6 separate regions of the Homo sapiens genome follow, and regions 1, 3, 4, 5 and 6 are each linked to region 2. Evidence: promoter capture Hi-C in human tissues and cell types (Jung and others, 2019). All regions are on one chromosome and are shown on one strand. Each heading gives the region's core, a stretch centred on a gene start or on the middle of the fragment in contact. The rest is flanking DNA. Distances are from core to core; before and after follow the strand shown.

Region 1 (4,117 bases), core at 1,516-4,015, 450 kb before region 2:
TAAAAAATAAAAATTAGACCGGGTGCGGTGGCTCACACCTGTAATCCTAGCACTCTGGGAGGCCGAGACAGGTGGGTCATTTGAGGTCAGGAGTTCAAGACCAGCCTGTCCAACATGGTGAAATCCTGTCTCTACTAAAAATACAAAAATTAGCCAGGCAGTAGTGGTGCACACCTGTAATCCCAGCTACTTGGGAGGCTGAGGCAGAAGAATCGCTTGAGCCTGGGAGGCAGAGGTTGTGGTAAGCCGAGATCACACCTGCACTCCGGTCTGGGTGACAGAGTGAGACCCTGTCTCAAAAAATATATATATAGATTAAAAATTAGCCAGGCATGGTAGCACACACCTATAGTCCCAGCTTCTTAGGAGGCTGAGGTGGGAGGATCACTTGAGCCCAGGAGGTTGAGGCTGCAGTGAGTTGTGATCGTGTCACTGCACTCCAGCCTGGACAACAGGGCAAGACTCTGTCTAGAAAAAATTAAATATATATATATGACATATATGTATATTATCTGGTGGATATTATTTCTTCCAGTTAATAAATAAGCAAAAAAATCATCATCAAATTGCTTTTCTCCTGGCAGAAACAATATACCTTCATCATCTTCAGACCTATATAACTCTTCAGATCTATATAACTCTTTCAATCTGGCCTACCATTTACCCTGCAGAAAACTTAAACATCTCACCGTTTTACAAGATATCCTGCTGGTTCACTCCATTGATGATATCCTACAGATGCTACAAGGAAAGCAGGACAATACAGTACCCTAGATGCCTTGGTAAGCCTCATGCCATTGAAGTCCTGGTCTATCAGGCAGTGGTTCTCAGTGTGGTCCTAAACCAACAACATCACCTGGGAACTTGTTAGAAATGCATATTCTTAGGCTCCACCTTAGATGTACTAAATCCATAATTTTGAGAATGGGGCCCAAAAATTGGTGTTTTAACCAGCCCTTCAGTTGATTCTGATTGATGTCTGGGGCACTTAAATATCCCCTCCAAAATATCAAATAATGTGCCATTTTGAAAGGCAGGATTCATAGGCCTCTTTGGATTTTTAAGGCAATATATTTCACATTTGGGTGTTCAAACATATTTGCCAGAAAATCGAAAAGCTTCCAGGATTTGGTGACATACTGAAAAGGCTGTTCAGGTGGTCCAGGCCACAGGTAGACAGACAGTCTGCACTTAGCCCTAATAAACTAGCGGTGCTTGAACCCTCTTTGGCAAATCCATGCAGATTGGAGCCTAAAGCAAACCAACCTGGAGATTGGTAGGAGAATTCAAAGGAGGCCAGTAGGATAGTTCAGAGGAAATCATTCCCTCTCAGCGAGTAATTGGTCTATTCTTGAGAAATGCTATTGGGTCCTCAGTGAATCAGAATATAGCAACATGGGACAACAGGTAAAGATGCAACTTGAGGTAACCTTCATGAGCTGAGAGTCATCTAACTGGAGTAGAAAATCATTAGATGCAGTAATGGCTAAGGGTTTGGATTTAAATACACAAAAAAATGAGGAAACAAAGCCTTGGACAAGCACTAAGCAGGGAGCTGGAATTGAGACTTCCATATAATTCATAATTTTTGCAAAACTGTAAATTAAGCAAAAGGTAAACTAGAAAGAGTTCAGCAGTAATACCTCTCCCTGGGCTTTGGGTGAAAAAAGAAAAATTCGTAGGAAAGTACAAGGTGAGTCTACAATATTTTGTTCCATCAGAAATAAAGGAATTGGCCGGGCGCGGTGGCTCACGCCTGTAATCCCAGCACTTTGGGAGGCTGAGGCGGGTGGATCACGAGGTCAGGAGATTGAGACCATCCTGGCTAACACGGTGAAACCCCGTCTCTACTAAAACTACAAAAAATTAGCCGGGCGTGGTGGCGGGCGCCTGTGGTCCCAGCTACTCGGGAGGCTGAGGCAGGAGAATGGCGTGAACCCGGGAGGCAGAGCTTGCAGTGAGCCGAGATCACGCCACTGCACTCCAGCCTGGGCGACAGAGCAAGACTCCATCTCAGAAAAAAAAAAGAAATAAAGGAATTGCTCAAACATTAATGCAAGTACGTCAAAAAGCAACAAATTAGCTTGAAGGCTACTAGCCAATTTTAGGGCAATTTGAGCACCGTATGGACTCCTCTTTTGTAGGTATCATATCTTCACCTTTTACTTCAGCTCTTGCTACAGAAACCAGCCTCGGGCAAGTGCAACCTGATAACACCTTGCCTCAGCCAACCATGAATCTCTTGCTTTCCGTCCCAGGGATCCTCTGACATTACAAGTACGAATGCCCCCTGTACAGAACAAACCTGAAACTGTGCAGGTGCCAACACACCATGAGGAAACCCTGATCCAATGATGGAAGGAAGCTAGTGGATAAATTGTCCCCTCTTTTATCACTTGGGGACACAATTTTAAGGTGCATTCTACACAGCTCCTCAGAGCTCCAGAAGAATGGAGTCTCAGTTGCCCAAAGCAGTAACCAACTTAATAATGCACCCTTGTATTAGCTTTCCCTCTTCCCCATTTAACTCTTCTAGTCTCTCATTCCTGTTAGGCAATAAGAACCTGGGTAGGGGGTGAGACGACAATAAGATCCAAGAAGAGAGAAATCTGAAAGGTGAGCAGATTGCTACAACTGCTTTATTCTGAGGTTTGCTAATTCTGAGCATGGGCAGGAGGCTGAGAATCTGGTCTTTGTACCTGCAGATGGCTGCTGCTAAGGGACAAAAAAGCCATTGGAGCTTTTGGTAGAGCTTTAAGGAGACTTCAAGTACATTGCTAATTTCTCCCTAGAACGTTTTCTGAATTTAAAGACTGTACAACTCAACACTAAAACAAAAACCAATCACCTAAGCAGAAAGCCAAATTTGTCAAAATGTCAACAATTGTTAAATATGGACAATGGACCAACAACGACAGACTGGATTAAGAAAATGTGGCACATATACACCATGGAATACTATGCAGCCATAAAAAATGATGAGTTCATGTCCTTTGTAGGGACATGGATGAAACTGGTAACCATCATTCTCAGCAAACTATCGCAAGGACAAAAAACCAAACACCGCATGTTCTCACTCACAGGTGGGAATTGAACAATGATAACACATGGACACAGAAAGGGGAACATCACACACTGGGGACTGTTGTGGGGTGGGGGGAGGGGGGAGGGATAGCATTAGGAGATATACCTAATGTAAATGACGAGTTAATGGGTGCAGCACACCAACATGTCACATGTATACATATGTAACAAACCTGCACGTTGTGCACATGTACCCTAAAACTTAAAGTATAATAATAAAATAAAAAAAAATGGACAATGGATATATGGTTATTAACTGTATTATTCATTCAACTTCTTTTGAAAATATTCATGATAAAAAGTGGAAGGGAAAATCCCAGGCCTCTGTGTATGTAAGTTTGGAGTACCAACTTATATTATCTATGATATATGTAATTTTGGAGTACAAACTTATATGACTTAGGATATAAAGGAGACTCTGAGCCAGGAATTTAACTTAAAATTAGGTCTCAATCTGATAATAACCCTGAGGACTTAGAAAAGGCAAATGCAAAACCACTCCAAAGAAATACTCCCACAACTGAGGTAGAACAGGATTGCCCATAAGGAAAACACACTAAAGACAAACTCACAACTAAAACTTAAACACATGACAACACATGAAAAAAAAAGATAGTAAATAAATATATGAAAAGAGCACAATCTCACTGTAGTAAGAGAAATGAATATATTTTTCACCCAATATATTAACTAAATATTTTAAAAATAAACTGTTGACAAAATAGAGAAACAAACAGCCTCAGAATTTATATTAAGTATATGAATTAGGCAGAAGATAATATAGAAATAAATCTATCAAAATTTTAAATGTTGGGGGAGGGAGGAAGGGAGACAAGGGTTGACACATTACTGGATACTATGCTCACTACCTGAGTGATGGGATCAGTCATATCCCAAACTTCAGCATCACGCAATATACCCACGTAGGCCAGGTGCGGTAGCTCATGCCTGTAATCCCAGCACTTTGGGAGGCCAAGCTGGGCGGATCACCTGAGGTCAAGAGTTTGAGACCAGCCTGACCAACATGGAGAAA
Region 2 (4,090 bases), core at 1,013-3,512:
AAGCAGAATTCTGCTCTCATCCTCATATCTCCATTTCGCATCCTGACTCTGACTCTTCTACCTCCCTCTTATAAGGACCCTGTGATTAGACTGTGCCCACCTGCATAATCCAGGATTGTCTTCTCATCTCAAGATTTTTAATTAACGACAAAGACCCTTTTGGCACTTAAGTTCATATGTTTAACAGATTCCAGGGATCAGGACATGGATATCGTTGATGGCTATTATCTTACCTTTTTTTTTTTTTCTTTTTTTTTTTAGACGTAGTCTCACTCTGTTGCCCAGGCTGCAGTGCAATGGTGAGATCTCGGCTAACTGCAAACTTCCCTCCTGGGTTCGAGCAATTCTCATGCCTCAGCCTTCCGAGAAGCTGGGATTACAGTCACCTGCCACCACACCCAGCTGACTTTTATATTTTTAGGAGACTGGGTTTTGCCATGTTGGCCAGGGTGGTCTTGAACTCCTGACCTCAGGTGATCCTCCCATCTCTGCCTCTCATAGTGCTGGGATTACAGGCGCGAGCCACTGCGCCTGGCCTAACCTACTTTTATTCTACAATGATTCTACTCTTACCTAACTTAGAAAAACTTGGTCTCTGAAGGGCCTTTATTGATGATGTGGGATTTCTGCCCCTTCTTCAAAACACTGGTCTGCCCCTGTCGAAACACCTGCTTTATCTCATGGAGGCTCCAGGTTGACTTTCATAACTAAGTAAAGTCTTGTATGTAGGATTCGGGTTTCAGGTTCATGGGGCCTTGAGATTCAAAGTTCAGGAGTTCTAGATTTGAGACACTAGAGGGAGACTTAGGCCTTGAAAAAGTGACCTCAATTCTAGGAGTAAGTGCTGAGACTCAGAGGAATTTTTGGCTTGAACTTGACCCAGGGTTCAGGCAACAGAGAGCAATGGCATAGGGAAGTATGGCATTTACTTTTTCAAGGGGGATAAAAAAGCAGAAGTGGCTGGGAGAGGTGGCTCACGCCTGTAATCCTAGCATTTTGGGAAGCTGAGGCGGGTGGATCACCTGAGGTCAGGAGTTTGAGACCAGCCTGGCCAACATGGAGAAACCCTGTCTCTACTAAAAATATAAAAATTAGCCTGGTGTGGTGGTGGGTGCCTGTAATCCCTGCTACTTGGGAGGCTGAGGCAGGAGAATCACTTGAACCTGGGAGGCAGAGGTTGCAGTGAGCCGAGATCGCGCCATTGCACTTCAGCCTGGGTGACAAGAGCGAAACTCTGTCTCAAAAAAAAAAAAAAAGGGCAGAAGTGGACTTGGCCACACACTTAATCTTAGATTCAAGGATGAAGAGAGCACCAAAGACCTGTACACAAATTAGCTGACTCAGAGGCCAAGGTCCTTCTCATTTTGTATCTAATAGCTCCCCTCCCCTCTCCAACACGGATGTAGGACAGAGAGCAAAATGAGAGGAAGTTGGAAATAGGTGAATAACAGCTGAAAGCCAAGGCCACAGTGTGCTCACCAGATAACATAAAAATTTTCAAGCTATAGTTACAGATTAAGTCTCTCTTAACTTTATTTTTCCTCTCATCTCTCCATTAAAGAATGATGCATCCTAGGCTAGGCACGGTGGCTCATGCCTGTAATCCCAGCACTTTGGGAGGACGAGGCGGGTGGATCACCTGAGGTCAAGAGTTCAAAAACAGCCTGACCAACATGGTGAAACCCCGTCTCTACTAAAAATACAAAAAATTAGCCGGGCGTGGTGTTGGGCGCCTGTAATCCCAGCTACTCGGGAGGCTGAGGCAGGGGAATCGCTTGAACCTGGGAGGCAGAGGTTGCAGTGAGCCAAGATTGTGCCATTGCACTCCAGCCTGGGCGACAAGAGCAAAACTCCGTCTCAAAGAAAAAAAAAAAGAATGATGCATCCTTGATGCAGAGTAGGAGATAATGAAAAATAAATAAATAAAACAAAACAAAACAAAAAAGAATGATGGATCCACCTTGCCTTAATCTTTATTTAAAGAAAGAGAAAGTTTACCAAATTCAGATGTCATTGAAGAACTTTGGAATTTGGTACCCAGTGATCCACCCTACAAAATTCATGTCATTTGCATCATAGGCTTTCTCATCACTAAAGATGCAAATCCCCACGATAATGTCCCTCTCAGTCGGCCCCCTGTTTGTACAGACAGCTCAGATTCCCATAACTGCCTGAGATGCGGGAATGAGTCATCCTCTGCCCAAGCAGGTGGCAGTGGGCACACCTGAAGCAACAAAGTCCAGGAACAATCAGCACAACTTATGACTCCAGAGGAGGAAGTCCAGAGACAGAGCACCATGACTTCTGAGAAAGGTAAAATGGATCCGGGGGCTTGGCAAGTATTCTTGAACAATGCAAGAATGGTGTGTGTGTGTGTGTGTGTGTGTGTGTGTGTGTGTGTGTGTGTGTGTGTGTGTCCTGCTGATTCTTGCATCTGTGGGTGTTTTCAAACTTCCCTATTATTGATTAATATATTAGTCTTAAATAAGATGGTTTATTATTAGTAAATATTTACATCTCCAAGTGACTTTAACCAAATCAGTGTTTGTTTCACCATGATAAAAAATTAAGTAGCCAGGCGCTGTGGCTCACACCTGTAATCCCAGCACTTTGGGAGTCCAAGGAGGGTGGATCACTTGAGGCCCAGGGTTTGAGACCAGCCTGGCCAACATGGTGAAACCCTATCTGTACTAAAAATACAAAAATTAGCCAGGCATGGTGGCGCATGCCTGTAGTCCCAGCTACTCGGGAGGCTGAGGCAGGAGGATCACTTGAACACAGGAGGCGGAGGTTGCAGTGACCTGAGATCACGCCACTGCACTCCAGCCTGGGCAACAGAGCAAGACTCTGTCTCACAAAAATAAAAAAAAAGTTAAGTAAAAGTACAACTGTTTAAATAACAGTTTAAGGTAACAACAGACGTGATAGCATGAGAACAATGTGCTAATTGACAAATGAATTGACTATAACTAATTGATAAATTTGTGCACAGTCAGTGTTAGAAAAATGCATGGGAGAGGAAGAACACTTCAGGCTGAAGGAAGTAATTTCAGCTGAGCTAGGATTTGAGCTGGATTCTAAGAGAAGTGTAGACCTAAAAAAATTTTTATCTTATTTTGTTTTTAGAGACTAGCGGGTGGGTTCACTACTTCGCCCAGGCTGGTCTGGAACTCCTGGGCTCAAGCAATTCTCCACCCTTGGTCTCTCAAAGTACTAGGAATACAGGCATGAGCCACCATGCCTAACCAAATTTTTTTTTTTTTTTTTTTAAGACTCGCCCTGTTGCCTAGGCTGGAGTACAGTGGTGTGATCACTGCTCACTGCTGTCTTGACCTCCTGGGCTCAAGAGATCCTCCCGCCTCACCTTCCTGGGTAGCTGGGACAACAGGCATGGGCCACCAGCCCTGCTAATTTTTTTGTAGAGATGAGGTCTTGCTTTATTGCTCAGGCTGGTCTTGAACTCCTGGGCTCAAGTGATCCACTAGCCTCGGCCTCCCAAAGTACTGGGATTACAGGTGTAAGCCACCATGCCAGGCCAGAAGGGCAGACTTTGGATCGACAAAGAAGAGGAGATTCCAGGTTGATTGAATCCTATTGATGAACAGAATTTAAAAGCTTTTATAGAGACTTGTGTCTGGAATATAATGAATAAACTGGTTAGGCTACAAAAAATTTATGTAAACAATTTGCAGTAAGACCAGAAAGCAAATTTGAAGTGTTATTATACTATAGAGGACTTCGAATGCCAGGCTCAAGGAATGAAAGTTTTTCTTTATGGTAGAGGGAATATCTTTGGAGAATTTATGAATAGCACAGAGATATGACTAAAATAGTGCTTTAGACACATTTACTTGACATGTGATGGGTTTTGGACTGGAAGCAAGGAGACCAGTTAGAAGACTATTGCAATAGTGTGAGTGTGATGGGGCAGAAGGTAATATAGATATCAGTTTGGAGTTGAAGTAACAATTTATTTTCTCCTTTATGTTCTTCATCTGTTAGAATTCTTTTTTAAGGTCAGGTGTGATGGCTCACACCTGTAATCCCAGCACTTTGGGAGGTCAAGGCAGGCGGATCACCTGAGGTAGGG
Region 3 (3,770 bases), core at 752-3,251, 430 kb after region 2:
TGAAAAATTAAAAACCTATTCATCACCTCCAAAAAGTTTCCTTCCACCCTCTGACTTTATTATTATTATTATTTTGGTAATAAGAACACTTAAAATATCTCCTTAGCAAGATTTTAAGAATATAATACAGTATTGTTAACTGTTGGCATTATGCTGTACAGTAGATCTCTAGCAGTTATTCTCTGTGTAGCTGAAATTTTGTACCCTTTGATGAATACCTTCCTGTTTTCTCCTCCCCACCAGCTCCTGGCAACCACCAATTCACTTTCTGGATCTATGAGTTAAACTTTTTTTTTTTTTAAGACAGAATCTTGCTCTGTCACCCAAGCTGGAGTGCAGTGGCGCAATCTCGACTCACTGCAACCTCCGCCTCCCAGGTTCAAGCGATTCTCCTGCCTCAGCCCCCCAAGTAGCTGGAATTACAGTCGTGTGCCACCACGCCAAGCTAATTTTTGTATTTTTAGAGATCTGGAGTTTTACCATGTTGGTCAGTCTGGTCCCAAACACCTGGCCTCAAGTGATCCAAACGTTGGCCGGCCAAACTGCTGGGATTACAGGTGTGAGCCACCTCACCCGGCCAAAATTGTTTTCTTAATTTCCTTTTTGGACAATTTATTGTAGTGTATAGAAACACAACTGATTTTGGTACATCGATATTGTATCCTGAAACTTTGTTAAATTTGTTTATCCTAAGTTTTTTTGGTAAATCTTTAGAATTTTCTATATATCATATATAGAAATATAATTTTCTGCACATCTATAAGATCATGTAATCTGCAAACAGAGATAATTTTACTTCTTCCTTTCTGATTTGAATACTTTTTATTTTCTTTTCTTGTCTACTTACTCTGGCTAGGACTTCTAATTCTATGTTGGATAGAAGTGGTGAGAATGTACATCATTTCCTTGTTCCAGATCTGAGAGAAAACGCTTTCAGTTTGTGACCGTTGAGTATGATGTTAGCTGTGTGCTTTTTATATATGGCCTTTATTTTGTCAAGGTAAATTCCTTCTATACCTAATTTGTTGAGAGTTGTTATCATCAAAGGGTGTTGAATCTTGTGGAATGCTTTTGCTGTATCTTTTGAGATTATCAAGTCATCTTTGTCCCTCATTCTGGTAGAAAGCATGTGTGAAGCCATTTGGGTCTGGGCTTTTCTTTGTTGGAAGGCTTTTTGTTTTTTGTTTTTTGGGGTTTTGTTTGTTTGTTTGTTTTTTGAGATGGAGTCTTGCTCTGTCACCCAGGCTGCAGTGCAGTGGCACAATCTCACTCACTGCAACCTCCACCTCCCGGGTTCAAGCGATCCTCCTGCCTCAGCCAGCCAAGTAGCTGGAATTACAGGTGCGTGCCATCACACCCAGCTAATTTTTGTATTTTTAGTAGACACAGGGTTTCACCATGTTGGCCAGGCTGGTCTCAAACTCCTGACCTCAAACGATCCACCAGCCTTGGCCTGCCAAATGCTGGGATTACAGGCGTGAGCCACCACACCCGCTGGAAGGTTTTTGATTACTAATTTAATCTCCTTATTTGTTATTGGTCTGTTCAGACTTTTTAATTCTTCATAATTCAGTCTTGGTAGGTTGTATGCTTTCAGGACTTTATTTTCTCTAAGTTGTCCATTTTGTTGACGTATAATTATTCTAGGGATTCTTCACATTTCTGTGGCAGGAGTTGCAGTGTCTCCTCTTTCACTCCTGATTTTCTTTCTTTGAGTATTTTTCTCTTTTACTTTTCATAGTTATAGGGTTTGTTGATTTTGTGGAAAGAGTTTTTTCTAAGAAAATCCTAAAGAACATTTTATTTTTTATTTTTTGTTCATACTTTAGTATGCAATGAACATTTTAATTTTTTCTTATTTTTTGAGAGGAAAATTATATGCTCATTTTATTCATGACTCTAAATGCAAAGGTTCAAACAAACAAAAATTAAGAAATTTTACCCAAGAAAATAAAATCAGGAAAGAAATGCAATGCAAATTTAACATTTGAAAATATTTTTAAATTAACTCTAACAGGTTAGTCGAGAAAAACTATTTTATCTTTTCAACAGAATCGGAAAACTCATTTAATATAATGTAATACCTATTCATGATTATTGGAAAAAACAAACATATAAACCGCAACAAATTAGGCTAACTTCCACACTCTGTTAAATAATATATAGTAAAAATGGATATGCAAACAAAAAACAAACAATAGAACTCTACAATAAACATCTTTAAAAAATTGGGTCAATTTCGGAATGATACAATAGTTAAAGTAAATACTAATGTTTGTCTCATTCAGGTTGAGAACTTACTATTTCCTTTTGACCAATGTATAAAAAAAGGCAAGATACACATGAAGGCAAAGGACTATCTTAAAATGAATAATGGTAATTTTATAACTGCTGCTAATTTGAGCCTGCTTTTATGTAATAAAATGCTAGACACTAACATTTGCCTTACCATCTTAGTATTGCTACCTATGCCTGTACTGTGAATTCAGCAACACCATTCCCAAATACACTACAGTGTTTATAATCAACACCTGAGCAGCTGACCAGCGGCTAAGACTTCCCACTTTAGTGTATTTTTAGTTCAAGTACAGAACCCTTATTATGGTACATTCAAAATAGTTGTCTTTATTTTGCTCATATCTTTCTAATAGCAAATATGTTTTTCTTTACTTTCTCCATGTTTGAAACTTGAACTACATTAAAGGGATATTCTGCAAAATTGTCAGCATCTCTTTCCCTCATTCCTGTGTCTAGGCTCTTTATTCTAAAAGGACATTGAGGGGAAAATAAAAGCAATAATGTGAGATTACCCTTGGGGTGCATTTAGAGAATGTTGGACTTTCCTTGTTGCCTACCTTTATGTTAGAAATTTAGATAAAAAACCGTAAGAGCTCACTTAATAATAGCTGTCATAATCATTACTATGATCTCCTACCTGGACAATATAAGGTAGCAGAGAGCGTGGCTTCAATTTTATTATTTTGGGAGTGGCACAGAGTAGACCCTATTTAAAGAAATGCAGACAAGTTTTTATCTTCAAAAAGCAATAAATTAATGGATCTAGTCATAATCATCAATGGCTACTATCATCATGAAAAAAATAACCTAACCAGACATTATGTGCCTCCTAAGAGAACAACATTATACAGCCTAAGAAGTAGTCTTGTTAAAAAAAAAAAAAATCAAGCAAGAGTCTGACTAAACCTCTAGATCAATTTACAGGAAATGTAGGGGAACAGAAGAACATGTAAACCACACCATATGTATGCAATTAGCAAAATTCAAGCTGTGAAATATTCAAAAAAACCAACAACTCAGTTCTTGAAAATAACAAATTGCAAGGGAAAAAGAAGGTAATGAGAAAATTCATAGATTAAAAGATACACAAAACACTTATCAACTAACCCAATGTGTGAGCTTAATTGGAACAAATGGTAGCAAGAAAAGATGCATGACTTAGATAATCAATGAAAATGTGAATGGTGGATATTTGATCGTAAGAAGCAATTATTGTTAACTTTTAGGTATAATTGGAGAATATGTTTGTTTTTAGAGTCCTTGTTTTTTAGATATATATACTAAAGCTATTTATGAATAAAATGTAATTTTGGAGATTGGTTAGGAGTAATGAAAAAACAGGATTAGCCATAAGGTAATAATTGTTGAAATGGGGCAGTAGATACATGAGAATTCAATATACAATTTTGTCTATTTTTGTATGTCTTTTGAGATTTTCAATAATAAATGTTTCAAAAATAAGTAATTGTTTT
Region 4 (3,904 bases), core at 428-2,927, 460 kb after region 2:
CCACCGACTCAGCTCAAACTCTGCACATTACTCCAGCTGTTTCACTACTCTGTTAGCTAACATGTTTCGTCCCATTCCATTCTCAACAGTTCGGTGTGTGGCTACAATGTAGCCCCTCTCACCCTATGCAGACTCTCTTATGTCCAGATGACCCTACACTCCCAGCCTTCTTTTCCCAGTCCTCCCAAGGCAGTCAGTACATGGAACACTGGAATGAAATACCCCAAGACTCCAAAAGTCTGAACAAATTATTCTTTTTTGTGGGGGTGGGCAGGGTCTTGCTATGTTGCCCAGGCTGGATTTGAACTCCCAGGCTCAAGTGATCCTCCCACTTCAGCCTCCCAAGTAGCTGGGACTACAGGCATGCACCATCAAACCCAGCTTCCCAACAAATGGCTCTTCAATAAGGTACACAGTCATGTCCCATTTCCATTCCTCCCCTGGGCTCACATTGGGACGAACGCTGAGGGCAGCTGTGAAGCAGTCCACGGCCTTGTCATACTCCCCACTCAGGTTGAAAAGGACTCCCAAGCCACACTGCACATCAGGGTCAATGGAGGTAGGGTCCAGCCGCACAGCTGCCAGGAAGAGCTCTTTCACTTCAAGAAACAGGGAGCTGGATGAAAAGGAAAAAAACACAAAGTAGGTAGATGAATGTCTCTATTCCCATCCCCCCAAATTAATTTCTTCATTGATCAACCATATCCCCAACATTCATCAATCTATCAGTCATCTCTTCTACTCTCAAAGTCCAATATAGAAGCCTGTTTTTCTATTTCATCCTAGCACTGAACTGTAGAATGCAGACCTCCTTCAACTTGATCCTAGGTTTCCCATCCCATTCTCAGGACCCTTCAGTCTCAATCCATCCAAACTTCCAAAACCAAGGTCACCCTCCTACTGGGACTTAGGTTACTGTAATTCCTCATCCTAGGAACCCCTCATACTCACTCAGACAAGAGAGATCCCAGGATACGCTTGCTGGGGCCCAGTCCTGCCCCACCAGCCCCTTCTTCAGCAGGTGTCACCAGATGGGCATAGGCTGGTGTGTACCGCAGCCAGTCTCGTAGGGTTTCACAGGCCTGTCGCTGCAGGGACTCGTTGGTGAAGCTCACAGCCAGCGCCATCAGTGCTGTCTGGTTATCTGGCTTTAGCTCCAGACACCTGTTTGATCAGGGATGGGCAGACTTGATATCTGCAATGACTGACACTGGCACATGTGAGCACCCTGGGATCCAAGCCAAGCTTTGAAATGCAGAGTCACAATGGCCTCACCTGTGACTCCTCTGACATGAGTTAATAATAAAGTTACAGATCTAAGGGGAAGGTTTTAGCAGGCAAGGAGCCAACCAAAGCCGCAAATAAAATCAAAAGCCGATGAAGGAATGGAATTCACTCCAACCCTCAGAGTTTCAGCATGAGAAAACACTCTTGATAGCACTCAGAAAGAAGACAAGGATCCAGGTCTGGGCTTCTGTCATTCAAAAGGTTATATGCAGAGCCTTGGAAGCACCTCACCCACACCTTTCAGTGTACTCACCTCCGCAATGCACTGATGGCTAATAGTTCTTGTTCATTCTCTGCCTGGGTGGTACCCAGATACTGCCAAGCCTAGAGGGAAGTTGACAGATTCCATCACCCCATATTCACCTCTCCATTCGCCCTTCCCCCTGGCTTCTCCCACTCACCATCTCGCTCTCAAGCCCCTATCCTAGGCCATCACCCAGGCCCTAACCCATCTGCACTACTCTCCTTGGGGCCTTTCTCAAGATGGAGGAAGCAGTCTCTAGCCAGAAATGAGACTATGGAGTCACTCACTTCCATGTGCTTAGGATCCTGCTGCACAGCTGCCTCAAAAAGCAGCACAGCATTTGGCAGGTCCCCCTCCTGAAGGCGCCGCAGCCCTTCTTCAAAAGGCTGAGGGTGATCACGCAAGGGGTTCTCCTCCTCAAACTGGTACCCCTACAAGAAAAGCACGTGAGAGATGGACTGAGAGGTGGCACCGTCAGAACAGCAGGGATGTGAGGATGACAACCAGCAGGCAGAGAAGCTGAGGGCCTCCAAACAGGTTCCGGAATTAATTGCTGGCAAATTCTCCATATTATAAAGATCATGTATGACACAAGTAAAATCATTTGGTATCAGGTTTGTGCTCCCATCTCCTGTTCATGATACCTGGGAAGCTAGGAAAGTCTACAAATTCATCTGCGCTGGAAATAAGCTTATTTTAGGAAGTCATCACAGGCTTGTATTCCCACACCTTGACTTCTCACCACGGGGCAGAATGTCTCAACAGGATCTGCTTATAGTAATGAGACAAAGTGTCCCTAGCTATGCAAAGTGCATTTCTTGTTATCCTTCAATAATGTGATGATGTATAAAGGAAATGTTGTTTGGAGTCCTGCTATTCAAATATAACTCTTACTTAGCTCAGAGTCATTCCACATGTCAACTAGATAAAACATTTTCAAGCATTTTGAAAATGTTAATTTATTCCCCGATTTCATTCTTAATAATCATGAATATTAATCTGTATCTGACAGTAAGCAAAAGCTGGATCCCAAAATCCAGATGGCAGAGAATACTTCAGAAAGACACCATTCTCTTCCAGCTGAGGATTTCTCACTTTAGAGAAGAGTTACGATACTATCTGCAAAGCTTTGTCAACTGGCATTTTACACTAGGCAGAGAAGAAATGAGGTAAAGGGGAAGTCACTAGTAAGCTGCAAAATCTGGGACATGCAAATAAAAAGTCCGTTTTTGGAGAGTAGTTACCATCATAAAATAATACACCAGAACGAAAACAAGATGCAAAACAACAGGTGGAGGTCTTTCTAAATGCAGTTAAGAATAAATTCAGATAAAACTGTACAAAATAAAGACATGAGGCCCTTTTTCATTATTATTGTGAAAATGATAAAGAATCAAAAACACTTAAATCTTACCAGCAAAATTCTAAGTCATGATCAGATGCAAATTATTTGTCACAAATGAAAATTAAATAATTACAATGGGGGGTTTAAGAAGAAAGACATATTATAGTAGATTTGAGATAAATGTATAGAAAGTATATTTATATTGAAAACAAGTGTGTTTTTGGACATCTCTGCATAATATAAAAACTAAGAAGGCAGAAAATGACGCTAGTCCAGTGATCAGCAAACTTTTTCTGCGAAGGGCCAGATAATAAATATTTCAGGCTTCGTGGATCTGCTGCAACTACTCACCTCTACTGTTGTAGTGCGAAAGCAGCCAGACATAAGTAAACAAATGAGCACGGCTGTCTTCCAATAACATTTTATTTATGGACACTAAAATTTGAATTTTATATAATTTTCACTTGTCACAAAGTATTACTCTTTTGATTTTCTCCAACCATTTAAAAATGTTAAAACCATCCTCAGCTAGTGGATCACTAAAAACATAAAGATTTATCCCACAAGCCAGTGTGCTGGCCCTTGCCCTAGACTATTACAGTTCAATAAAATAAATCCTTCTGCATTCAACCTCAACTATTGTTCATCATTAATACGTGTTTTAAGCCACTCTACAGAAAACAGAGATTACTGTCATCTATAATGCAGTTTCCTAATAAAAGTAATTCCTGCCTCTCAGAGCCATTGAGAACATCAAATGGGAATCTTCACCAACGCCTTACCAAAAAGCTTAAGATACTATCTGTAAATAGCTATTATCCTCACTGCTCTAGATACTTCCTTAAGATATGATGGCCTGTATATGACAGCCAGAAGTGATGCGAATGCTCTTCAGGTGTCTTCATTAGATAATACAACAACTCAATGCCACCATCTTGCAACCACAGGATTCTCTAAGTTTCCTCTCATCCATATTATCTACCCTCCTTGAAGTCTCATCAATTGCTGATCAAAGAGGAATTTTCCAA
Region 5 (4,243 bases), core at 1,035-3,534, 410 kb after region 2:
CGGTGTTGAGTGAGTTTCTTAATCCTGAGTTCTAGTTTGATTGCACTGTGGTCTGAGAGGCAGTTTGTTATAATCTCTGTTCTTTTACATTTGCTGAGGAGTGCTTTACTTCCAAGTATGTGGTCAATTTTGGAATAGGTGTGGTGTGGTGCTGAAAAAAATGTATATTCTTTTGATTTGGGGTGGAGAGTTCTGTAGATGTCTATTAGTTCTGCTTGGTGCAGGGCTGAGTTCAATTCCTGGGTATCCTTGTTAACTTTCTGTCTCGTCGATCTGTCTAATGTTGACAGAGGAGTGTTAAAGTCTCCCATTATTATTGTGTGGGAGTCTAAGTCTCTTTGTAGGTCACTCAGCACTTGCTTTATGAATCTGGGTGCTCCTGTATTGGGTGCATATATATTTAGGATAGTTAGCTCTTCTTGTTGAATTGATCCCTTTACCATTATGTAATGGCCTTCTTTGTCTCTTTTGATCTTTGTTGGTTTAAAGTCTGTTTTATCAGAGACTAGGATTGCAACCCCTGCCTTTTTTTGTTTTCCATTTGCTTGGTAGATCTTCCTCCATCCTTTTATTTTTGAGCCTATGTGTGTCTCTGCACATGAGATGGGTCTCCTGAATACAGCACACTGATGGGTCTTGACTCTTTATCCAATTTGCCAGTCTGTGTCTTTTAATTGGAGCATTTAGTCCATTACATTTAAAGTTAATATTGTTATGTGTGAATTTGATCCTGTCATGATGATTTAGCTGGTTATTTTGCTCGTTAGTTGATGCAGTTTCTTCCTAGTCTCGATGGTCTTTACATTTTGGCATGATTTTGCAGCGGCTGGTACCGGTTGTTCCTTTCCATGTTTAGTGCTTCCTTCAGGAGCTCTTTTAGGGCAGGCCTGGTAGTGACAAAATCTCTCAGCATTTGCTTGTCTGTAAAGTATTTTATTTCTCCTTTACTTATGAAGCTTAGTTTGGCTGGATATGAAATTCTGGGTTGAAAATTCTTTTCTTTAAGAATGTTGAATATTGGCCCCCACTCTCTTCTGGCTTGTAGAGTTTCTGCCGAGAGATCCACTGTTAGTCTGATGGGCTTCCCTTTGAGGGTAACCTGACCTTTCTCTCTGGTTGCCCTTAACATTTTTTCCTTCATTTCAACTTTGGTGAATCTGACAGTTATGTGTCTTGGAGTTGCTCTTCTCGAGGAGTATCTTTGTGGTGTTCTCTGTATTTCCTGAATCTGAATGTTGGCCTGCCTTGCTAGATTGGGGAAGTTCTCCTGGATAATATCCTGCAGAGTGTTTTCCAACTTGGTTCCATTCTCCCTGTCACTTTCAGGTACACCAATCAGACACAGATTTGGTCTTTTCACATAGTCCCATATTTCTTGGAGGCTTTGTTCATTTCTTTTTATTCTTTTTTCTCTAAACTTCCCATCTCACTTCATTTCATTCATTTCATCTTCCATCACTGATACCCTTTCTTCCAGTTGATCACATCAGCTCCTGAGGCTTCTGCATTCTTCACGTAGTTCTCGAGCCTTGGCTTTCAGCTCCATCAGCTCCTTTAAGCACCCTTCTGTATTGTTTATTCTAGTTATACATTCGTCTAAATTTTTTTCAAAGTTTTCCACTTCTTTGCCTTTGGTTTGAATTTCCTCCTGTAGCTCGGAGTAGTTTGGTCGTCTGAAGCCTTCTTCTCTCAACTTGTCAAAGTCATTCTCCGTCCAGCTTTGTTCCATTGCTGGTGAGGAACTGCGTTCCTTTGGAGGAGGAGAGGCACTCTGCTTTTTAGAGTTTCCAGTTTTTCTGCTCTGTGGTTTTATCTACTTTTGGTCTTTGATGATGGTGATGTACGGATGGGTTTTTGGTGTGGATGTCCTTTCTGTTTGTTAGTTTTCCTTCTAACAGACAGAACCCTCAGCTGCAGGTCTGTTGGAGTTTGCTAGCGGTCCACTCCAGACCCTGTTTGCCTGTGTATCAGCAGCGGTGTCTGCAGAACCACAGATTTTCGTGATCCGTGAATGCTGCTATCTGATCGTTCCTCTGGAAGTTTTGTCTCAGAGGAGTACCCGGCCATGTGAGGTGTCAGTCTGCCCCTACTGGAGGGTGCCTCCCAGTTAGGCTGCTGGGGATCAAGGTTCAGGGACCCACTTGAGGTGGCAATCTGCCCGTTCTCAGATCTCCCACTGCGTGCTGGGAGAACCACTACCCTCCTCAAAGCTGTCAGACAGGGACATTTAAGTCTGCAGAGGTTACTGCTGTCTTTTTGTTTGTCTGTGCCCTGCCCCCAGAGGTGGAGCCTACAGAGGCAGGCAGGCCTCCTTGAGCTGTGGTGGGCTCCACCCAGTTCGAGCTTCCCGGCTGCTTTGTTTACCTAAGCGAGCCTGGGCAATGGTGGGCGCCCCTCCCCCAGCCTCGCTGCCACCTTGCAGTTTGATCTCAGACTGCTGTGCTAGCAATCAGCGAGAGTCTGTGGGCGTAGGACCCTCCAAGCCAGGTGCGGGATATAATCTTGTGGGCGCCGTTTTTTAAGCTGGTCGGAAAAGCGCAGTATTCGGGTGGGAGTGGCTGGATTTTCCAGGTGCCGTCTGTCACCCCTTTCCTTGACCAGGAAAGGGAACTCCCTGACCCCTTGCGATTCCCAGTGAGGCAAAGCCTCACCCTGCTTTGGCTGGCACACGGTGTGCTGCACCCACTGTCCTGCCCCCACTGTCTGGCACTCCCTAGTGAGATGAACCCGGTACCTCAGATGGAAATGCAGAAATCACCCGTCTTCTGCGTCACTCACGCTGGGAGCTGTAGACCGGAGCTGTTCCTATTCGGCCATCTTGGCTCCTCCATGGTGCCTTGATTATTCTTTTTGATACAGAAATTGTCTCAAATTTGGCCAGTGAGAGCTCTCTCAAGTTGACTTTTGTGTCCTTTTGACATGTCATTATCATTTTTTGATCACTTGTTTACTTTCTGATGCAAAAAGAAGTCCCAAGTTCGCCCGGTATTTTTTGTACTCCACCTGTGGATATATCATTTTTACCAAGGAGCCCCTTATATCAAGAATGATGTTTAGAAATCAAGATTTAGGCTCCAGAAGCAATGGCATCTTACTATTAGATGCCACTGATTCCAGGACTTCTAGTACACACAACTAGGAAATACAATTTTTAAAAAATTATGAGTTCATAGTAATATTTCCAAATAAAATTTAATTTTAATATTTTATTTTTAAATTTTATTTTTTTAATATTTAAGGAGCATTTATTTTTTCCTGTGAACTGTCCATTCATGTATTTTGCCTGTTTTCCTACCAGATTTGGCCTTTTTCTTCTTTAAGAACTCCTTACATATTAGGGATATTAACTCTTTGTCTGTTAAGTAAACTGCAAATATTTTTTCACCCAGTTTTGTATTTGTAATATCTGGCCCAGGTTCAGCTGCCTGGAGCTAACTTTTGAAAAAGGGCTCCTTATTCATAGGCAAAACTACAAGGAGAGGAATGAAACTCCTGTTTTCCAGGTGTCAGGCACTGTTCTGAGTGCTTAGTGAACATTCTTTTCTTGTACCTGGTGGCAAATCTTTGAACATTATTCCTTATCTAAATCCCACATGGCTAAAATGTTTTAGAAGTCAGAATTTTTCAGTTTTTGGAAAGGTCATATGGTACTTAGAACCATCTCTACTCCCCTAGCAAGGCCTGGGGCAGCATACTGAAATCATATACGTAAATATTTCTGTAGTGAAATGTGTGAATATTCCCATTAATTAAGATAAATAAAGACTATAGTTAGTTTCACCTCATCTCAGATCAGGTTTTGCTGCCAAATTAGATATGAAAAACATTTTTGATTATCAGAGCTTTTCAGATTTTGGAATCGTGGATAAGAGATAGTAGGCTTCTATCTATTATCCTTGCTTTACAAGCAAGGAAAGGAATTTTTATTTTTTATTCTTATTTTTATTTTTATTTTTTTGAGATGGAATCTCACTCTGTCGCCCAGGCTGGAGTGCAGTGGCACGATTTTGACTCACTGCAAGCTCCACCTCCCAGGTTCATGCCATTCTCCTGCCTCCGCCTCCCAAGTAGCTGGGACTACAAGCACCCACCACCATGCCTGGCTAATTTTTTGTATTTTTAGTAGAGATGGGGTTTCACCGTGTTAGCCAGGATGGTCTCGATCTCCTGACCTTGTGATCCACCCACCTCAGCCTCCCAAAGTGCTGGGATTACAGGTATGAGCCACCGTGCCTGGTAGAAT
Region 6 (3,998 bases), core at 1,471-3,970, 370 kb after region 2:
AAAACATTATCTTTGTTGAAATTTGTATATAAATTAATGTAACAAAATGTCTCCAGAAAATATCTGTAAAATTAAGGGTCAAACCAGATGATTTAAAAAATTTTAGTGATTTCTAGAGTGTTAAGGGAAACCTTAACAGTGAAAAACAATGATTGACCAATTGGTGTGTGGTCATGTTAAATACTTCCATATAATATATGTCAACAGTGCTAGGAAGCAGGCATTTTATTTTCTGTATATACGATTTATTGTTTCATGCATAAGGTCACTGAGGTACAGAGAGGTAAGCAACTTATCAAAAAGCCATCCATCTAGCAAGCAGCAGAAATTCCAGCCCACCTTCGTTGTCTCCAAAGCTATACAAGGAAATGCTACCAGGTTTTTGCTACATTTCTATCAACCTTAATAAAGTAAGAGAACATTTTATTTTCCTATCAGAGGACAGTTTGCTAGGGTTGGGTCTGCAGTTATCCAATTACAGCAAGATAATGCGCCTCTTTCTTTCTCTCTCTCTCTCTTTTTTTTTTTTTTTTTTTTGGTGGGGGAACAGCATCTCACTCTGTCACCCAGGCTGGAGTGCAGTGATGATCGTAGCTCACTGGAGCCTGGACCTCCCAGGTTCAAGTGGTCCTCTCGCCTCCACCTCCTGAATAGCTGCGACCACAGGCATGTGCCATCATGCCTGGCTAATTTGTTAATTTTTTGTCTCACTATGTTGCCCAGGCTGGTCTCAAGCTCCTGAGCTCAAGCAGTCCTCCCACCTCAGCCTCCCAAAGTGCTGGGATTACAGGCGTGAGCCAGTGCCCCCGGCCAACGTGCCTTTTCTCTTACTACTGTGGTACTTTCCCAACTTCTCATTTACTAGAGTCACCTCCATGTTACCAGATGCATTGTTTCCTTACCAGAGAATGGTATTATTGATCCAGAAAGGCCGTTAACTCCTTCACAGAGACTCAGTTCTGTATCTGCCAGAAAGTCAGTTCCTTTCTTCTTTTCTTTTGGAAGCATCTATGCCATGGTAGCCCTAAGTCTCTGGTGTGCAGGTGGAAGGATCATAATCCTCTGGGAGGAGAGTTTTTGTTTCTCTGGACAACCTGTGGTTAAGGTGACAGCAGCTTATAAGACACAGCTGGGAGGAGAGAAAGGCAGTGCAGGGGCAACCTCCTCTCATAGGTCAGTGCCAAACAATGGCTAAGCCCCAGTGCATTAACAGATTATTTTCATTTATAGAGCTGAAGATAAAGAGATCTACCCTGGTGCAGTGGTCTTTATCAGAGCCTCTCAACATTGTTGTCGGGCAGCCCAAGACATTGGCATGCTTGATTATTGTGATATAACTGGATCTGGCCTGGCAAACCTACCAAAGTAGTATAACCAAAAAGCATATCAGAACCCTCAACTCACTGATTAATGAAGATTATGAGAAAACCTCCAAACTCCTGGCTTTTATTGAGCATCTACTGTGTGCCTGGCTGCTCCTGGATATCTGTTCTGATGCTATCTCATTTGGAAATTATCTTAAGACAATGTTGCTGAAGGGTTTGAACATAAACATTGCCTGTCTATGCCCTTGTGGATGTTAGTTGCTGGCAACAGGAATTGGGTTTCACAAAGTTTATGCCCAAATGTTGCTTGTTGGTGACAGTGATGGTGGCAGTGGTCAGACAGTGGCATTTTTCACTTTAAGAGTTCATTGGTAGCCCGTATAACACCCAAAGGACAGTATCTCTTATGGGCTTATATATGAAGAGAGCTTCCTGGTCTTTTAACAAATGAAGGCTAAGCCCAGGGTGCCAGACTGAATAGACGCTCTCCCTGCTAAAGATATCTACATACTAAACTTTAGAACCTGTGACTACGTTTCTTTAAATAGGAAAAAGGACATTACAGATTTGATTACCTTAAGGACCTTGAAATAGGGTGATTATCCTAGAACATCTGAGTGGGTCTAATAGAATCACAAGGGTCTTTATAAGAGAAAGGCAGGAAGGTTAGTCAGTGAAGGTGACATGATGACTCTGCTGCTGATTTGAAGGTGCAGGGAAAGGCCACCAGCCAAGGTATGCAGATGACTTCTAGACGTTTGAAAAGGCAAGGAAATACATTCTCTTCTTGGGGCTTCAGAATAAATACAAGCTTGCTGGCACCTTGATTTTAGCTTAGTGAAACCGATGGCAGGATCCTGACCTTCAGAACTGTAAGATGATAAACTCATGTGGTTTTAAGCGATTAAGTTTGTGGTAATTTATTACAGCAGCAATAGAAAACTAATACCCTCAGAGACTGTACACATCCTGACCACTGCTGGATGTCTGCCATGCACACAGTAGAAGCTCAACAGCTATTAAAGTAATGGCCTGTTTAAAAGTAGGTATTCCCTCTTCCCAGGTATGAAACCTGCAGACTGTTAGATTGTTGAGGCTGGATGAGTCTTTGAAAGTACACAGACCAATCTTTTCATTTTACTAATAAGAAGGCCCCAAGAGGAGAGGTGATTTGATGGGATACACAGCAGGTTGCTGGCGGAACTGGAACCCAGGTCTTTTGACTCCAGATCTGTGGAAGGAAAACAAAAACTTGGGACCTCAATTCATTATGCCAAAAGGAAAAAAATTAAGCTGAAGGCTGAGTCATACAAGAAGCTGACTTTCTTTTTCTTCCTACTGATAAAATGTTACCTATCTGCATAGGCAGCTACTTAGGTAAAGTGCCGATTTACTGAGCATGAGATGAATATATAATTGACTATTCACCTACCTGCTCCTTTTCTCTTGCAACATGTGGATTCTGTAATGTGACCATACCCTCTCCTTTCCCCCTCCAGCCTGCTTTTCCCCTTTAAATATTGAAGCCCTCAAAATTATCTTTGGACAAAGGCACAGACCACAGACTGTTTCTGTGATTCTGTGCTTTTTTTCTCCTAGGCATTGCCCTTAACCTTGGCAAAATAAACTTCTAAATTGATTGAGACCTGTCTCAGATATTTTTTGGTTTACAAATTGGCAACCAGTGGAAGGGAATCTAAGTGGAGGTGATCCTAACCGACAAATGTCCTATTGGTGCTTGGTACCAGCTTGAACGATCTTTATTGCTCAAACTAATAGGACAATCTGCTCAGGTCTAGGGAGCTCCCCACTGCAGAAAATCGATGATCTCCCAAAATTTGGTTGATATCTAAGGTTTCTTTGGCTGTACAACTCCTTTTCTGGGGTTTTACTCACTTCCAACAAGGCAGGTGAGTTTTCCTGCTTCCGTAATGATGGAAAGCAGGTGATTCTTTTCAGGAGTTTCAGCTCACTTCCAACAGGGAAGGCAAGTTTAAGGTTTTTTCCTGCGTTTAAAATGGCGGAGGGCAATCTTCAGCCTGGGCCCCATTCCTAGGTAAGTAGCCGAATTGGGATTTTGTCTTGGAAATTCTCCTGAATTACTAAAAGTTAAGATTAACACCCAGCCGGTCTGAATTTCTCCTTACCATTAGAGCGCTCAGTAATTGTATAAATTGACCAGTTGTTTGTTTGTTTGCTTAAGTGTTTTTTTGTTTGTTTCTGGGTTTGTTGTTTTTGGTGGTGGTGGTTGTTTTTGTTGTTTTGGTCTTTTTCCCATTGGGTTTGACCAACTGGTAGATTTCCTTTGGTCGAATTTGAAGGAAAGTTCCAAATTATGGGGAACAATGCCTCTGAATTGGCTAAATTCCCACAGCTGAACAACAACAAAAGAGACGAAAGAAGAAAACACAGCCAGCAAAAGGGGAAAAAAAAAAAAAGAAAAGAAAATTTTTGACTACCTGAGGGTCTTTATTTACAAAACAAGGCCACCTTTTGCTAGCCCGCCAAACTGAGAGAGCAATAGTGGTCACCCCATGCTGTGGTTCAGTAGCTAAGATTCTGCCCTTTTTTCACCACGGCAGCCTGGTTTTGATTCCTAAATCAAATCCTTTCTGGTTTGATATTTGTGTTACTTTTGAAATACTGGCAGTTCGTCCCAGCTAAAATATGGTA

The links. The method cuts DNA at HindIII sites, captures the fragments that hold promoters and counts their contacts. A contact is called where the count stands out against the background at its distance.
Region 1: a fragment that was not itself captured here is called in contact with the fragment with the promoter of APOBEC1 in region 2 in 1 of the 25 tissues and cell types used here (hippocampus).
Region 3: a fragment that was not itself captured here is called in contact with the fragment with the promoter of APOBEC1 in region 2 in 2 of the 25 tissues and cell types used here (spleen and stomach).
Region 4: a fragment that was not itself captured here is called in contact with the fragment with the promoter of APOBEC1 in region 2 in 2 of the 25 tissues and cell types used here (dorsolateral prefrontal cortex and spleen).
Region 5: a contact is called between a fragment that was not itself captured here and the fragment with the promoter of APOBEC1 in region 2, in 1 of the 25 tissues and cell types used here (spleen).
Region 6: a contact is called between a fragment that was not itself captured here and the fragment with the promoter of APOBEC1 in region 2, in 1 of the 25 tissues and cell types used here (H1 embryonic stem cells).

Annotation. Positions count from the first base shown.
Region 1 is chr12:8,112,161-8,116,277 of GRCh38, reverse strand. It overlaps a transcript of CLEC4A not described here. Among named protein-coding and RNA genes, the nearest start is that of CLEC4A, 9.4 kb to the left of the region's middle. The HindIII fragment of the contact is 5,099 bases long and covers 216-4,117 here.
Region 2 is chr12:7,664,080-7,668,169 of GRCh38, reverse strand. It overlaps APOBEC1 (apolipoprotein B mRNA editing enzyme catalytic subunit 1), which reads left to right and starts at 2,262. Exons shown (of 5, transcript NM_001644.5): 1 at 2,262-2,313. The coding sequence starts at 2,298. RefSeq lists an enhancer at 1,263-1,557. The HindIII fragment of the contact is 14,417 bases long and covers 1-4,090 here.
Region 3 is chr12:7,231,735-7,235,504 of GRCh38, reverse strand. No RefSeq gene overlaps it. Among named protein-coding and RNA genes, the nearest start is that of PEX5, 44 kb to the right of the region's middle. The HindIII fragment of the contact is 7,187 bases long and covers 1-3,770 here.
Region 4 is chr12:7,205,717-7,209,620 of GRCh38, reverse strand. It overlaps PEX5 (peroxisomal biogenesis factor 5), which reads right to left. Exons shown (of 16, transcript NM_001351132.2): 11 at 1,819-1,962; 12 at 1,541-1,611; 13 at 952-1,164; 14 at 451-616. Among named protein-coding and RNA genes, the nearest start is that of PEX5, 18 kb to the right of the region's middle. The HindIII fragment of the contact is 4,293 bases long and covers 1-3,823 here.
Region 5 is chr12:7,249,718-7,253,960 of GRCh38, reverse strand. No RefSeq gene overlaps it. Among named protein-coding and RNA genes, the nearest start is that of ACSM4, 52 kb to the left of the region's middle. The HindIII fragment of the contact is 4,546 bases long and covers 12-4,243 here.
Region 6 is chr12:7,296,700-7,300,697 of GRCh38, reverse strand. No RefSeq gene overlaps it. Among named protein-coding and RNA genes, the nearest start is that of ACSM4, 5.4 kb to the left of the region's middle. The HindIII fragment of the contact is 5,413 bases long and covers 14-3,998 here.